Linked DNA regions of Homo sapiens: region 1 is linked to region 2. Evidence: promoter capture Hi-C in 16 types of primary human blood cells and fetal thymus (Javierre and others, 2016). All regions are on one chromosome and are shown on one strand. The core of a region is centred on a gene start or on the middle of the fragment in contact, and the rest is flanking DNA. Distances in the headings are between cores, read along the strand shown. Region 1 holds the start of NEMP2 (nuclear envelope integral membrane protein 2). Region 2 holds the start of ORMDL1 (ORMDL sphingolipid biosynthesis regulator 1).

Evidence for each region. Contacts are between HindIII fragments. The CHiCAGO score rates a contact against its expected background, and 5 or more counts as called.
Region 1: the fragment with the promoter of NEMP2 here is called in contact with the fragment with the promoter of ORMDL1 in region 2 in 16 of 17 cell types (fetal thymus, total B cells, monocytes and 13 more); the score reaches 20.1 in fetal thymus.

What each region holds. Positions count from the first base shown.
Region 1 is chr2:190,533,306-190,536,136 of GRCh38, forward strand. It overlaps NEMP2 (nuclear envelope integral membrane protein 2), which reads right to left and starts at 1,417. Exons shown (of 9, transcript NM_001142645.2): 1 at 1,254-1,417. The coding sequence starts at 1,350. NEMP2-DT (NEMP2 divergent transcript) reads left to right here and starts at 1,533. Exons shown (of 5, transcript NR_183903.1): 1 at 1,533-1,816. RefSeq lists a silencer at 1,081-1,730. The HindIII fragment of the contact is 6,238 bases long and covers 1-2,831 here.
Region 2 is chr2:189,782,833-189,785,894 of GRCh38, forward strand. ORMDL1 (ORMDL sphingolipid biosynthesis regulator 1) reads right to left here and starts at 1,507. Exons shown (of 5, transcript NM_016467.5): 1 at 1,437-1,507; 2 at 182-291. It overlaps PMS1 (PMS1 homolog 1, mismatch repair system component), which reads left to right and starts at 1,618. Exons shown (of 13, transcript NM_000534.5): 1 at 1,618-1,761. RefSeq lists enhancers at 794-1,680, 966-1,045, 1,136-1,195, 1,206-1,435, 1,986-2,035 and a silencer at 1,576-1,625. The HindIII fragment of the contact is 2,480 bases long and covers 1-1,535 here.

The sequences.
Region 1 (2,831 bases), core at 167-2,666, 750 kb after region 2:
ATTTGTGTTTTATTTTTTCACCAGCATAAAATTGTTGTATTTCTTACTACCAAACCTTCGTTTTCTCATCTGTAAAATGGGTATAAAATGGTGCTTTCCCGCATAGGGCTTCTATGGGTATTAAATATGATAGATACTGCAGTTAAAGCACTTATAACACTGCCTAGCACATACTGAACACTCAAAAAATTTCTCTTCAATGAAAACTGGAATCCAACACTTCCCCAACATATAACTCACTGCAAGATTCCCTCAGTTGGGAGCTGTGGCAGAATCTGATAATGACCTCATCAACATCCAGTCTCTCATTCATCCTTAGATAAAAAACCGCGGTATAACCGGAGGGAGGGCCATGCCCAGCTAAAAGAATACACTTGGCAGCCTCCCTTGAAACCAGGGTAGCCAAAGCAAGGAAGGGAAGTTGGTAGACAGTGCACCCAGGAAATCTTTTAAAAGATTTTATGAGGGGAAAAAAAAAAAGAAACAGAAATGTGAAGCTCATGGTAAGTTAGCGGCAGGTCTGGAGTTGGAACTCTAGGTTTCTGACTTCCCCAGGTGTCCTTCCCAGATCCTTCCCCAGTGTGCCAGCATCTTAAGCCCACTCCGTGGCGAGCCCCTACAGCTAGCAGCCGCTACCAGTTCTTGCTTCCTGTGTGCCAGGCATTGTGCACACGAACACCACAAGAACCTTGTGAGGCCTCATTACCTGCCGCTCACGTGGGACCGTTATGTTTACTCGCTCAAGGTCACAACAGTCAGGGGCAGAAGAATTTTCGCTCCGATTCTGAAGCTGAAGCTGTTACCTTCTCTAGTCTTGAGACCAAAGGAATGCGAGATAGTGAAATAACAAGGATTTCAACACGCATTGATGTACTGTACAAAAGGCCGTGTGCTGAAAGTCTGGAGACTAGGGTCAGCTGTGCCAGTGACAAGCTGTGTGACCCTGGGCAAATCAAAACCTCTCTGAGTTTCGGTTGCTTCTGTAAAACGAGGGAATTGGGCGACTGGATCGCGCGGTTGCTTCTAATTCTAAAATTACAAAATGTCCAACTGCCAGGCGAGAGACTACGGAAGCCCAGTAAGACAGGAAGGGCGGGCGGGGCCTGCCCGGGAGACCCCAAAGCGAGAAAAGGGAGCGCCCGCCCCAGTGGGCCTCGCGGTGCCGCCCGGGCCAAAGAGCGCGCCCTCAGGGCAGCCGCGAAGCCGGGGAGCGAGCACGCACGCGCGCGCCGCCGCCGCCGGTCCCGGGTTACCTGATAACGCTGCCGCCGCCGCCTCCCCGCGCACGGGCAGTGTGGCCAGGGGCGGCAGCCAGAGCAGCAGCCACCACCGCCCTTGGCGCGGCCCCATTTCGTTAGGGGTCAGCTCCGTGCGACCCGAGCCCTAGGGGACCGGCTCCGCTGCGAGGAGCGGAAGTGGCGCGGGGGCTCAGAGAAGGCGGAGGGGGCGGTGAGGCCCGAACGCGGGAAAGGCGGAGACCCCGCCTCCCCGGGGCGGAGGGAGAGTTGGGCTCGTTGCTCCAGCCTCCGCCCGCGGCCTCGGGGCACGGCGGGCCCAGGCCGGAGGAGCTTTCGGTGGCGCGACCCCGCTGGCATGCTCCCGGCCTCGGCCTCGGCCTCGGCCTTGGCCTCCGGGCCTCCAGCGCACGCGGGGCGTCCAGGGCCTCATCTTCCCCTGGGGACCGCCCGGCCGTGTCCCGCTGCCCTCGGCGCAGGGGTGGGAGTTGCAGAGAGGAAGAGTCGCTAACCCGGAGTGTTTCTTAAAACTTGGCTGACCTGTGACCTGCGGATTTGGAGGCTGAATTCTCCGAGCACCTGTGAGTGACAGCCCGTGAATGGGAAGGTCCTTCGGCAAACGCCCTTTTTGTGAATAAAATACATAAAAGCCAGTTTCTTTATTTTACCTTTCTGTTTATCTTTTTACTTTCATTTGGTAACAAGCAATAACAAATTGGAAATTTGGCCGCTTAAGTAACACTGACTTGTATGTCTAATCTCGGACACGGCATTTCAGAGTACAGAGGGGCTCGTAAAATGTTCCTTCACCAACATGACAAGGTTCTCTTAAAATTACCTTATGTTAAAAAAAAGTTTCTTAATGTAATAGATATATTTTTAAATTAACATATAACCTGAATGATCTTAATACTGATAATTAGGAGATATACATATATTTTAAAGAACATTCCCTCCACAGGACCTGGAACCCATTAATTTGACTCAATATTCCATACTTAACTAGGACAGTCTTCTCTAATTCTGGTCTTTTGGTGAGATATCTTAGAGAACCCAAAGTAACAGAAATTATCCTGTTAAAAATAGATAAGCCTCATTTTTCCTAAAAGTCTGAGTAGGATGGACTAGGCTTTCCTTGCCCTCAAAGAAAGGTTTAACCAACTGCCCTTAAGCACTTGGCACCATGTGTACACCATGTATGGCTTTTAAAAAGTTAAGAAATTTCCTTGTAAGGGACTCTTCAGAGGGATGGTTTTTAAAAATAAACCATCATTACTTGAGTGAAGCCTGTCTTCAGAGAAACAGCAGAGCCCTGATCCAATTCTTTCCTGTATTCCCAGGTGCGGTGTGCACTTGCTTCTTGCAAGACAGCTTTTGTACCTAACCACATTCATTTTGATTTGGTTTAATTTTGGATGGCACTATGGAAAGTAGCTAAAATAAACAGGTGGGTTGTTGAATGATGAATGTATTTTCTACAGATATATCTGGTGGAGAAACAAAAGGGCAGGCAGCAATGTACTAAATATTTAAAGTGCTATTTATATCACAGATCCTTAGTAAATATCTGTAAAGAAGCTATATTGAAACACCACA
Region 2 (3,062 bases), core at 257-2,756:
AAAAAATAGTTACAATGCCTTTCCAAAAGTTTGTTTTCTAGCATGTTGTTTTACTGAATAGGAAAATTCAAACTGAAAGAGAAAACCTACATTTTCTTATATCATGAGAGCAAAGTGAAAAGCCAAAAGCTAAATTTACCAACATAATAAATTTATATTAAAAAGAAAAAGCAGAACTCACCGAGCCAGTGTGTCAAGTAGTCAGACTCTTATATTTGACTTAATGTATCCATAAAGAATGGTCAGAGTTCAGATCACTTCTTTCTGAATACTCAATGTGGAAGGTACATGCTGTTGACATAATGTGGTGTAAAATTTACATGGTCAAGGGATAATGTTTGTTTCTCAATTTTGTGATTAAACTAGGTGAAAATAAGGAGTCTTCTGAATATTTCTCTAGTCAAATCAAAAACTTCAGTTTTCTTTCTTCTTTTTAAAAAAGGTTTTCCCTTCTCCTTTCCATTGAAGATGGACTCCAAAGGAAGAATTGATAATAGTTCTCAGTTCTTTTAATGATGGTGTTTACTTGAGACTAAGAATTGCTTAAAATAAAACTGTCCTGAAGAACACCTATCATCCGACGGAGGGGGAAAACGAGGCTAGATTATATTTGGAACAGCTGTGATTTTAAAATACACAAACGCTTGTATTACGGAGTTAGCATACAGAGAGGAATTTCTCATAACCCCTTCCAGCAAATGTTTCCGGAGTATAATGCTCCTTCCGCTCTAGAGACCCATAGAACAGGCATCAAGGGTTAAGGGGACGAAAAGTTAGTTACACTAAGACCGCTAAAGCCTCCAATTTATATGTGTAAATCTTTCGTCTAAACACCCATGATTTATCATACATTAAACTATTATGTCATACTTAGAACATGCCAACACTCAAGATAGTTTTCCCACGTTCCACAGGATGGAGGCCTGAAATTTACATCTCAGCTGGAAGGCAAAGCTGGTGCGGTACTCATCCTATTCCAACCAGAAAACCTTTTCCCAGCAGGTTTGCCGCGCTGCCCACGACTGGCAAACAATGACCTTACAGACCGTGAAGAGGCTGTTGGCTCTGCCCTCGCCGGTGCCTCCGAAGACGGCGACCCGCAGCGGCCCCTCAGGGGAGTCCCCCCTGCTAGACCGACAGCCCGAGCGCTCTGGGCCAGAGAAAACTCAGCAAAAGCCGCCGCTGCTACCACCTCAGCGCCTCCCCCAACCCGCCCCTTCCTTCTCGCGGCCGCACGTCACGTCAGGACCCTGGCAAGACAACGAGGATTTGCGTAGGGGGCGAGCCTCTGAGGCCACTTGGCTCTTACGGCCACGCAGGGCGCCGCAGATGCAGCCGGAGCCCGCTTTTCCCTCTCAGGACGACCCCTAGGCCGCCAGCAGTTCCCTACCGACGAAGGCGACTGTACAGCGTCCACCGCGTTCGTGCCCACTTACCCGCCGCCCCACTCCGGGCCGCCGGCTCGCAGCAGGACCAGCCCGGCTGCTACGGCCGCGGATACACGCCCTCAGGCCCGGCGCTGCGCAGCTTGCGGAAGCTTTCCCGGACAGACTCGCTGCCAGCGGATTGGCTGCGAGCAGCGCCAATCTCACGTTGCCCCCGGGCGAGGCGGGACTCAGTGCCGCGCTCTCTGCACCCGCTCTGCCGCGCGCGTGCGTGCTGGGTGCGGGTGCGGGTGCGGGGTTGGGCCTGCGCATCGGGTGAGACGCTGGCTGCTTGCGGCTAGTGGATGGTAATTGCCTGCCTCGCGCTAGCAGGAAGGTAGTGTGGTGTGACTAACGGGTATTTATTATATCCTCGATGGCTCGAGGGCCCCGTCCCCTCTACTCGTCCTGGTCCGGGCGCGAACGCTATAGGGCAGCTAAGGGCGCTCCCCGCGGGGCGGGAAGCGAAGCCGGGCTTGCGGGCGCGCACACGTGGAACGCGTTTTCTGAGCAGGTCTGGGCTCCGGGGTGTTCTGGCTTGGTCTTTGTTGCGTCCCATTCCCCAGACCCTTCTGGGTGGAGGACTTAAAATTTGTTTTCCAGGCAGCAGATTTAACCCATGGCAACTGTAACTCATCTTGTGTGAGTGGCGGTTTATAGTATTGTATCCTGTGGCATCATACAAGGGGTGCAAGTTAAACTCTTTAAAGTTAATCACGATTTTTGCTCTTGGCCTTCTGGGTTTATCCGTACGCCGAAGACAGGCACCTGTATTACATGCTAAGGAAATGTGAATACCAAAAATTGATCCTGAGGAAAGTCTTGATTAGGTTTTTTTGGAATCGCCTTTGAAATGTAATTTCCCTCACCTTGGCAGTGCAGAAAGTTTGTGATTTTTATTGCCGAAATAGCTTTCAACATTTTGAAATTGACTTAAGAGAATGTTGGCTGTGTATGTCTGTATCTTGCATTTCTGTTGGCTTTGTGAACCTAATTGTTTTGGATTTAGTCTGATCTTTAAATAAATGATTTCTTTGTGTTCTCTCTAATGGAAGTCTGTGAGTTCTCTGATCTTTACTTCTTTTTTAGGCACACCTGTTGTCCTTAACTGACTTTCCGGGTCATCAGCACTTCTTCAGAAGTGTTCCTTTTCCCTCCCAGCAAATATGGAAGACTGACTATCCTGATATTCCCAGACATTCTTTGCTGTGATTTGTAAGCCCGATATAAACCCTTCCATTTGGTACACATATGGTATAGAGTGCTATATTCCAGGGGCTATGCTAGCGATGTGTGATTGATATAAAACCCCTGTCCTCAAAGAACTCTGAGTCAGGAGCAACAGACAGAAACACATATTAATAGAGTAACTTGTGATGAGGTTAATTAGAAATGAGGTAAAGGGGGACTGCAGGGGAAGGAATACCTAATCTGTTGGCAGGTGAAGGAAAGGAGGCTGCAGCAGGGAAGAAAGGCTTGAAGAGTTGATACTGAACTAAATCTGGAAGGATGATTAGAAGTCAGCTGAGAGAGAACCATGTGAGCTGAGGAAGGAGTGAGTGTCACCATGTTAAGAGAGACAAGTTGGCTGGGCACGGTGGCTCACACCTGTAATCCCAGCACTTTGGGAGGCCAAGG